Regions from separate parts of the Homo sapiens genome. Here region 1 is linked to region 2. Evidence: promoter capture Hi-C in 16 types of primary human blood cells and fetal thymus (Javierre and others, 2016). All regions are on one chromosome and are shown on one strand. The core of a region is centred on a gene start or on the middle of the fragment in contact, and the rest is flanking DNA. Distances in the headings are between cores, read along the strand shown. Region 1 overlaps UBR5 (ubiquitin protein ligase E3 component n-recognin 5). Region 2 holds the start of ODF1 (outer dense fiber of sperm tails 1).

The links. Contacts are between HindIII fragments. The CHiCAGO score rates a contact against its expected background, and 5 or more counts as called.
Region 1: a contact is called between a fragment that was not itself captured here and the fragment with the promoter of ODF1 in region 2, in 1 of 17 cell types (endothelial precursors). The highest score is 5.2, in endothelial precursors.

The regions. Positions count from the first base shown.
Region 1 is chr8:102,263,827-102,269,559 of GRCh38, forward strand. It overlaps UBR5 (ubiquitin protein ligase E3 component n-recognin 5), which reads right to left. Exons shown (of 59, transcript NM_015902.6): 51 at 5,152-5,282; 52 at 3,121-3,181; 53 at 1,274-1,452; 54 at 648-732. Among named protein-coding and RNA genes, the nearest start is that of UBR5-DT, 27 kb to the left of the region's middle. The HindIII fragment of the contact is 1,160 bases long and covers 1,706-2,865 here.
Region 2 is chr8:102,550,050-102,554,994 of GRCh38, forward strand. It overlaps ODF1 (outer dense fiber of sperm tails 1), which reads left to right and starts at 1,540. Exons shown (of 2, transcript NM_024410.4): 1 at 1,540-1,998. The coding sequence starts at 1,679. LOC124901998 (a long non-coding RNA gene) reads left to right here. Exons shown (of 3, transcript XR_007061039.1): 3 at 458-547. LOC105375684 (a long non-coding RNA gene) reads right to left here and starts at 579. Exons shown (of 2, transcript XR_928478.3): 1 at 494-579. The HindIII fragment of the contact is 343 bases long and covers 1,205-1,547 here.

The sequences.
Region 1 (5,733 bases), core at 1,036-3,535, 290 kb before region 2:
GATCCTCCTATCTCAGTCTCCCAAGTATAGCTGGGACCACAGGTGCATGCCACCACACGCAGTTAACTTTTAAAATTTTTGGTAGAGTCAGAGTCTCGTACGTTGTCCAGGCTGGTCTCAAACTCCTGGGATCAAGAGATGCTTCTGCCTTGGCCTCCCAAAGTGTTGGGATTACAGGTGTCAGGCATAAGCCACCGTGCCTGGCCTGGAAGGCTCTTTTCAATACCACTACCTTCTCTAACACCAGGTACAACTAATAATAGTGGATACAATTTACCAATCACTTACTATTTGCCAGGTACTTACGATGTTGTGTTTCTTACCAATTTATAAATGGGGAAACATGGCAGAAATGTCAGCATATTTGTTTGCAACAGGACGTAGGTCTGTCAGACCCCCCAGCCCCACTTGTGTTATCTACTCTGCTATGCCATCTCCCCATAGTCTTTTTCTGTCATTAATTTATTAATTTTATTTTTGTTGACCATAATTGTATAATTAAATGTTTTAAAGTTATTTATAATGGCTGTAATGCTTTAAGATTTAATAGTAAATGAATGTTATAAACAGTATGCTAGCGTTTGATTATTTTATAAAAGAAAATTTTTGCAATTGTGAATACAATTAGGTTCATCAAAATCACTTACTTTTCTACCAAGCAATACTTTAATTACATGTCTATTCAATGTGATAGGACATAGTTCATTCTGTAACAGACATAGTCCAAGAATCCTAAAAACAAACACAGAGAAATAAGATTTAAATAATTCTAGAATACATATATCCCCCCACACATAATACGTATTAATATTTTGAGAAATTCTCTACAGCCTCCTTTCTATTCAGCATAAAGTACAGCACATACACTTTTTCAAAAAACAAAACAAAACAAAAAAAAACAGGAACACCAGCCTGAGAATGTTTTGTTTTTGAGACAGGGTCTCACTCTGTCAACCCAGGCTGAAGTGCAGTGCCACAGTCAGGTCATCCTCCTACGCCAGCCTCCCAAGTAGCTGGGACTACAGGCATTGCAGCACAATGCCCGCTAGTATTTTTTTATTTTTAGTAAAGACAGGGTTTCGCCATGTTGCCCAGGCAGGTCTCCAACTCCTGGGCTCAAGTGATCCTCCCAGTTCAGTCTCCCAAAGTGCTGAGATTACAGGTGTGAGCCACCGCACCCAGCGTACATACATTTTAAAACAAATATATTTTAGAAAATCTCATAAATTGAAATGTTTTAAAAAATTCAAACCCAAGATTAAAGTTCTTTTACCTGCCAATGTTTCTGAAACAATTCAACCTTGCTTCTGTGTTCTTGCCAGGCCTTGGAGTATAAAATCCTCTTTTCCCAGGTTGGTAAAACAAAGGGGCATTGTCATCACCATCATCTGTATCATCTAAATCCATATCTACTACACTTCGACTAGAGCCATGGCGCTTTCGGTTTTCCTGCTAACAGAGAATATCAGAGAGTAAGCCCCAAGATTCACTGAAAAAACAAAACATATGAAATGGTTCTCTCAAATCATTCAAATGAAGTCAGGTAGGAAGAGCAACATAAATATTTAAATATATGTGTATAACAATATTAAAGGTAAATGAACTTTTAATTTGCCCTTTCAGAATGTGACACACAAAGCTTGTGTATTATTAGGTCTTTAACGTCTCTGTTGTTAAAATAAAGTCATTTAATGAAACTCGGATAAGCTTCTTTCACTTTATTGCCTGAAAATTCTTTTCACTGGATACAGAATTCTGTCATCACTTTGATGAGTTTGTTGACTTTTGGCTTTCATACTTTATAGTGAGAAATCCACTCTTTCAAATCACTGTTTCCCTATAGGTAAAGAACCATTCTTTGGCTGCTTTCAATAACATTTCTTTATTTTACAGAAGTTTGATTATAATGTATCTGGACATAGTTTTCTTTCAGTTTATTCTGTTGAGTTCACTGACTCTTGAATCTGGAAATCTATGTCTTTTACCAAATTTAGGAAGTGCCCAGCCATGATTTATTTCTTCAAATATTTTTTCTATAGCAATTTCTTCTCTTCCCCTGAGTATTTCAGTGACATATATGTTAGATCTTTTGAAGTTGTCCCACAGGTCTCCCTGAAACTGTCCTTTTGTTTTAAAATATTTTCTCTATCTGTTCTTCAGAAAGGGTAATTTCCATCTATCTTCAAGCTGACTGACACTTTCCTCCAACACCTTCATTCAGCTATTGATGCATCCTGTGAATTTTTTTCTTTTAGATATTGCCCTTTTAATTCTAAAAATTTCCCTTTGTTCTCTTTTGAAGTTCCTGTGTGTGTCTGCTGAGAACCTCTGTCTTTCCATTCACCAGTGTTCACCATTATCTTGCAGAACATGGGATAGTCTTTGATAATTCCAACAAGTGGGTCATCTCGTGGTTGCCATCTATTGGTTCTTTTCCTGAGAGAGGTGGATCCAGTTTTTCCTGGTTCTTTGTAGGCTGAGTAATTTTAGAGTGTATCCTGGGCATTGTGAATTAGTTGTGAAAACTCTGAGTCTTAGTAAATTAATATGAATTTAGTAGGCAATCAACCTACTTAGGTTCAAATTGGAAGTCTCACCTTCTATGTGCAATTGTTTCAATGCCAACTAAAAAGGCTTCCTTATGCTATAGCATGATATGTCACTTGTTTTTGCAATGTTGGCACCAGCTACTTCTTTGAAGAATGAGTCCCAGGAGTCCTAGAACTCCTGATCTCGTGATCTGCCCACCTCGGTCTCCCAAAGGGCTGGGATTACAGGCGTGAGCCACCACACCTGGTGAATTAGTCCTAGGATTCTATACATCTTTCCCTCTCTGTTCTTCAATTTGTTACTTATTCAAAGTAAAGCTTAATTCAAGCTGTGCTCAAATGGATGCCAACCAATGGGTGGGATTATACTGAGCCCTAATTAAGCCAAGCTTATTATTTGATTCTATGCATAATACCGATATATTTATCTTTGCTTCTGTCTCTCTACTGTAAACATTCATTTTATTTATAAAGACAGTTTCTTCAGAAATCCTGCTTTCATCCCCTTTATTGAAATTTCCTTGTAATTTAAATTCTGTGATTATCAGCACATGAATAAAATGTTCCTTACCTGTACCTTTTCTGAGGAGTCTACTAATCCAAGATCCAGGATACTATCAGCTCCATTTTCCCTAAAAACAAAAAGCCTTTCACATTCCAGATAACGGAGACTTCTAGAATTTAGCGTATAATTTAAATTTAAAAGGACTTACTTACAAAATACATTCAAGTTTTGGAGTCAATAAATATCCAATGCACCTGCTAGTACTAATGCAGTATGAGCAGAGAAGTTGGTAATACAAATCTTTAAAAAAGTGTATCACTAGATCCTTCATGTATGATTCAAGATAGTGGACTAAAGGCTCCCTGACAAAATGAATGTGGTCTTCATAGGGGTGCTGGAACACTTCTACAATGCTCAGAGGGAGCACTACAGAAGAACAGAAAAATGTTCAGAAAGCAATCCAAATTCACTAGCAAATTCTCTAGCGAATTTAATGATTCTAGAACACCAATAAATTCACTGTTTACTCCAGAAAGCCAGGTGAAAGCTGTCAATATTGTACATTGGTTGCATTCAACAGAAAACATGACTAAATACGCAACTCTTAACATATACTCACAAAAATCTTTTCACCAAAAATGTACATTGTTCTTGATTTTTCTATAATGGACTAAGCTATACCAGTATGCAGTAGCTCCAGAGACAGGGCAGAGGAATAAACGAACAGTACATAAAATCCAGAGAAGAAAAGAGCATCAGCAAAGAAAATACAGTTCTCTCAACAGTCTTTGGCTTGGACCATTAAAAGGCTCTAGAAGTGGCTGTTTAGCTCTAGTGCCCAGCCTACCAGCTTATACATCTCTAGGAGTGTATCTAATCTAAATTCCTAACTCATTAGGAAGAAAAAAATACAACTTTTCATCTAAAATAATAAACACTTCAAAGTTTCAAACTGGGTATCAGATTAGCCCCAGGATAGAAACTACAGCATAAATGTGACCTATCTTCCCTTTTTTTTTCTTTTTTTTTGAGACAGAGGCTCGCTCTGTCACATAGGCTGGAGTGCAGTGGCGCAATCTCAGCTCACTGCAACCTCTGTCTCCCGGGTTTAAGCAATTCTCCCTGCCTCAGCCTCTCGAGTAGCTGGGATTACAGGTGCTCACCACCACACCCAGCTTATTTATTTATTTACTTATTTATTTTTTGAGATGGAGTCTCGCTCTGTCGCCCAGGCTGGAGTGCAATGGCATGGTCTTGGCTCACTGCAAGCTCCACCCTCCTGGGTTCAAGCTATTCTCTTGCCTCAGCCTCCCGAGCAGCTAGGATTACAGGCGCCCACCATCATGCCTGGCTAATTTTTCTATTTTTCGTAGAGACGGGTTTCATCATGTTGGTCAGGCTGGTTTCGAATTCCTGACCTCGTGATCCACCCGCTTTGGCCTCCCAAAGTGCTGGGATCACAGGCATGAGCCACCGTGCCCAGCCACTTTTAACTTTTTTTTTAGTAGAGATACGGTTTCACCATGTTGGCTAGGCTGGTCTTGAACTCCTGACCTCAGGCAATCTGCCCGCCTCAGCCTCCCAAAGTGCTGGGATTACAGGTGAGAGCCACCGCACCCGGCCTTATCTTCCTAAGTCACTTTTACTTGTCACCTTGGAAAAAGGGATATGTAATCTGTTAGATATTTTTTAGATTTTATATTAAATTCATACTTTACAGAATAGAAAGCAAAAACTTCCATGAATTTTTAAGACAAATCAGGAAGCCTAAAAGAAATGTCATGGTTATGGCAAGAACACAGTATAATATGTATGGCCTTTGCCAGGAGGGTATTCTGATAAGTGAATTTGAGATGTACTTTCTTTCAAGTAATTTCCAAATAACCTTGGTAACTATTAAAACCCTACCTTTCTAATACATGAGAAGAAACTAAGCTGTCTCATTCATGGAATTTAAGCTATCATTTAAAAAATAAATAAAAATGCATTTAAAGTCTTATACTTTATGACATAAATTTTAAGATATGATGGCACCCACATACTGAAAGTAAGTAGCTGATGTTTAAACTGAAATGCCTTCCCAATTGTACACATTACCGTCCATGTGCAATAATGAGTTCCATGGCCTCATCCACTCTTGCTCTCAGAGAATCCTCACTTGCTAGAAGGAGAAGCAGCTGAGCTGGGGATAATTCCAACAACATGCCAGTGATTTTACTTGCAAATGCCTGTAAATGATGAACAAATGTTACTTGACTACTCTCTAAAACCTCTTGTCTAATTACATCTACAATCTTTTATTTAAAAAAAAAATAAAATAAGAAACTTGGGTAACAAATACAAAATTTCAGAACCAGTAAGGTCTTTTATGAAACTGGAAGATCAATTATAGAGAAACTTGGCAGGGAATAAACAGTCCATGCAGTACCACATCTTGTTAAGGCTACTTATAATATTTGTATGACAAGTTTTCTTTTTAGGTTTTTTTATATCTCTGAGTTAAACATACATATACTCAATTTCCATATTTTTTTCTTCATCAGAGAGCCAGAAATATCTTTTATTTAGGGTAGAAAAAAAGAAGGGGGTAGGGTAGAGAAAAATATACCTATGTTTAAGGCTGAGGACTTGCTGGAAGAAATAATAGTTTTCTGTTATTCTTTCACTATAAAATGTGTA
Region 2 (4,945 bases), core at 290-2,789:
GAGTTCAATTTCTAAGCAGGCAGAACGTCCTGTGTATGAGCTCTGAATGAGGTGGAAGGAATGAGGAATGTCCTTCAAGGGACTAAGGAACGGCCTCTGGAAAGTGAGTGGTCTTCCAGGAAGGCCATCGTGGCTGAGGGGTAATGAATTGCAATAATACTAGGATGGGAGAGGAGAGTGGGGAAGTGGGAGAGGCCCCATTGCTCAGCACCTGGTAAAGATTTTGGTCCTTTTTTTGAGAGGACAGAGAAGACTTTTAAGGTGAGTGGGATGATGGGTGGGGAAGGTTGAGGAATGACAGATTTCTATATGAAAGTCGCTGTGGCTACAATGTGGAAAATGGATTAGATGGGGCCTGGGCAGAGGTGGGGGAAGGCTTTCCCATTGGCTTCCTCCTTGCCATCCCCATAGCCATGATCCCCAGTCCAGATTTTTGTTGTCTCTTCTTGTCTTGCAGCAGAAAACCCCACTACTATTGTCCCTAGCAACTTACCTTCAGTGTGGCTGTCTCACTTCTGACAAAAGAAAAGAAAATCAACAATCCTTCGTTGGGCTCAAAATAAAGTTCAGAGTCCTTAGTCTGGCTACAGGTCCCTTCAAACCTGGCCCTTGTCTCCCTCACCAGTGTCACATCCAACCACTTGTCATCAATACCTGAGCTCTAGTTCATACAAGGGAGACTCGAGAGCTGGACCGCAGTTTGAGGTGAAAGGACCAGAGGAGTAGAGGCACCGAGAGCCAAATCTGAGGCCGAATCAGAGGTCTAGGATGTTAACTGAACAGAAAGTAAAGGAAACTGGCCGAAGCGGGGGTTTCAGGCAGTTGGCTTCCAGCATCTTCAGGCGGTTGGCTACAAGAACATCAAAGACCAACATTTGGGAAGCACTCAGGGACAAGACATCCGGAGGCTTGGATGCAAGACCAAAGGTGTAGTTGATGGGAGGTAGTTCCCCAGGACAGGCCCCCGAGGACTGACAGATGGGAGCTTAAGGACAGGACCCCCAACCAGTAGAGAAATGAGGTTCCCGAACAGCCATGACCACAGCTGGCGCAGAATGGGCAGGACTCAGAGACTTGTAACTCAGAAGGTCAAGGACAATGGCTGACTTGAGGATGACTTGGTAGGAGGAGAATGATGAGAACATTCTTTATATTCTACCTGTCTGGAGACAGAATGAATTCTAGAACAAAAGGAGCAAGGCCAAGCTTCCAATCAAGGCTAGAGCTAGAAGGTCATGGAGAAAGGCGTGGGCAGCTCCTGCCTTCGCCTGCACCAAGTTCAACAAACACACAGTCATAGCCATGGCTGGTCCCCAGAGCACACACAAGGCAAGGATGTTAGTGGCCAGCCCCATGCACCCCGATGAGCTATGCTCGCTTGGGAGACCCATCCTCCTTGAAGGTGAGTGAAATCTCAACACGAGTATGGTTCTGAGAGTAGCTCTGTAACTCTGAGGATGGTCTCTGGAGACCATGACTGTGTACAGTTCACATGGTAACCAGAAGACTATGACATACTTCAGAAGGTGGTGAGGTCATAGAACACAAGCTTTAAAGTAAGTGAATCATGTGTGCCTCATTTATTTTTAAAAGCAACTTCTGAGAAGGGCTTAGAACAAATTTTTTCCCGGAGTGCCATTTCCCAAAGGTACTCACAGAACAATCAGGTGTGACCATAATGGCTGCACTGAGTTGTCTCTTGGACAGTGTCAGAAGGGACATAAAGAAGGTGGACAGAGAACTAAGGCAACTGAGATGCATCGACGAATTTAGCACACGGTGCCTGTGCGACTTGTATATGCACCCCTATTGCTGCTGTGACTTGCACCCATATCCGTACTGCTTGTGCTATTCCAAGCGATCACGCTCTTGCGGCCTGTGTGATCTCTACCCATGTTGCCTGTGTGATTATAAGCTTTACTGTCTGCGACCATCTCTCAGAAGTTTGGAGAGGAAAGCCATCAGAGCCATAGAAGATGAGAAGCGAGAGCTTGCCAAGTAAAATAACTTATTTTTAAATTTTTATAGTCGGTATATTAGCCTTATAAGTTGGAATAAGGAAAAATATGTGACAATCAATAGTTGAACAAAGATTAAAAGGGTTCAGGATAATGACCCTGGTGACTTAGGAAAGATTTAAGGAAAGAAGAGTAAATGAGTCCATGATGGGAATTGTAGGGTTCTCAAAAGACAATGTAATGATGTCGATTGGCAAGGTCGTCGGTGGTTTATAGCAAGAATGCCAGTATGATAAATAATGCGGCTTTAATGAAGGGAAGAAACAGGGGGTGTCATTAAAAAGCCATTGGAAGCAGCAAACTAAACATTTTTCCTGGTTATGAGTAAAGTGATTTGAGTATATTTGGACTTACAGAAATGACTACAGGAGAAGTAATAATAATAGATCAAATCCTTAATGTGTGCCAGAGGCTTTACAAGCAGGAGAGCAAATTGAACAGTAGAGGCATTGCCTTGGTTTTGTGGGAATATCATTCTCCTATCCCCCCACTCCAGGCAAAGACTTACCTTGTATCTGGAATTAGGTCTATCATGTTGGCCTCCCCTCTAACTCTAGCAAAGGTCTTGCAAATAAACTATGGCACTGAGTTGTAGCTTTCAGGATAGACTTGAAAGGCTTTTTAATTGAATTGGGTAATTAAAAAGAGTCAGTTTTTTAAAAAAATTTTTGTTTTAGATTATATTTTCTTTTTGCCTGGAGAAAACTTTCCTTTTCTAACTTTTTACATATGCCATTTAGTCTGTTACTGTTGATGAAAAAGATGGTTGAAAGTGCTGTCCCTGGTTAAATAAATAATACATTCATGCACTGGAATAATAAGTAAATATAGAAAGGATTGATGAAGCATCTTACATATTGATGTATTAAGTCAAACAAGCAAAGTGCAGAAAAACTGATAGACAGATGACAGATAGATAGATAGATAGATAGATAGATAGATAGATAGATGATAGATAGATAGAGTCTCTTGACAACAGTGACAGTGATGTTTCTTTGGAAAAAGCAATAGGAGGCCGGGTGCATTGGCTCATGCCAGTAATCCCAGCACTTTGGGAGGCGGAGGCGGGCAGATCACCTGAGCTCAAGAGTTCGAGACCAGCCTGGCTAACATGGTGAAACCCCATCTCTACTAAATACAAAAAAAAAAAAAAAAAAAAATTAGCCAAGCGTAGTGGCACGTGCCTGTAATCCCAGCTACTCGTGAGACTGAGGCAGGAGAATCACTTGAACCCAGGAGGCAGAGGTTGCAGTGAGCCAAGATTGCACCACTACACTCCAGACCGGGTGACAAAGTGAGACTGTCTCAAAAAAAAAAAAAAAAAAAGGATAATTATTGTCTAGGTCACCAGCCACCAATGGTCAGGAATGAACCTCCCTCATAGCCTGGGAGCTTTCACCTGTAAATTCATCTATACTCTTTGAACCAATGTTTGTTTTTATTTCTTAGGGCATCAAGTCACATAAATTGCTCACACTGTGAGGCAGGGACTCTTTTTAAAATATTTGGTCCAAGTTAAGGTTTCCTTGTGAGCAGATCAGTATCCACTCTCCTCCTACTTTTGGATACTTGAATACCCTTGTCCAGGTCTTTCCAGCCTCTGTCTTCCTGGCTTCTCTCCTATCCCCAGACTCTACCAATTAAAATCCCTCTCTGTCCTGTGCTGTCTACTCTCTTGATGCCTCTTTCAGAAGCCTTGTTTCTTGGCATGCAGTAGAAACAGCTTCAAGCTTAATTCTCGGCAGTGTAGTTTAGGCAAGAGGTAATGTTTTCTCTGGTTTGTGATGCTCTTCCTGACAGCGTCTGGGTCTTTGCCTATTTTTTCTCTGCCTGCAGGCAATATGTGAAGCTGGTGATGTCTTTACATTAATTTCTGGATCTCGGAAATGATAACTCCAAGTCCATTGTAGAAATGACCTCAGGCTTGTCCGCTTTATCTCTTCCAATTCACACCACCTTGTGAAATTTCTATGCTCTATTTCTGACAACTTGACATTTCACTCTCCAGAAGGGCTTAGTGTCACTTGCAAACCTAAATATTCAATTTTCCTGAATATGGGTGAAAATGTTAAACCCTGATTCTAGCCTCAGTCCCAGAAGGCCCCCAGTGTAGTATTTTTTCTTCTAGTGCAGTGCCTTTTATTCTTATCTCTAAGCTAGCGCCTGATCCATAACTAAATAGATGCAGAAATATCATGTTGATTCAATTTTTTAAAACAATCTTTGGTGTGAAAGCTTGCCCAAGGCTTTTTGAGTTTAGAATTCATATTCACATGACCTTCCTCCCCTTTAAAGAATGCAAGGGGGTTGGTTAGTTATGACATATCCTTTCAGATGGCAGGCTGTGTTGTCCAGAAGGTTCTTTGCCCAATATGAAGTAAAGACTCTATAGTCTATAGTTGCCTTGGCCCCCTTGAAACTGTTTTTCTGTGTCACAGTCAATCTGCTGTGTCTCTGGGTCCTCCTTTAATAACTGGTAAAAAGCCTCAACCAACAATTTCTTAATTGATCCCACAGGTTTCTTGAGCACTCCTGACTATATGTTATTTGATTGATGCATGTGTGTGGTGTTTTCTTAGACTGGGCATAGAAAATCCAATCCAAGCTGGGTGCAGTGGTTCACACCTGTAATCTCAGCACTTTGGGAGGCTGTAATAGGAGAATTGCTCAAGTCCGGGAGTTTGGGACCAGCCTGAGCAACACAGGGAGTCCCCATCTCTATAAAAATTAAAATAAAAAAATTAACCAAGTGTGGTGGCACATGCTTGTGGTCCCAGGTACTCAGGAGGCTGAGGTGGGAGGACTGCTTGAGCCTGGGAGGTCAGGACTGCGGTAAGCCATGATTATGCCACTACACTCCAGCCTGGACAATAGAAAGAGACCCTGTTTCAAAAAATAAATAAATAAATAAAAGAAAATCCAATCCA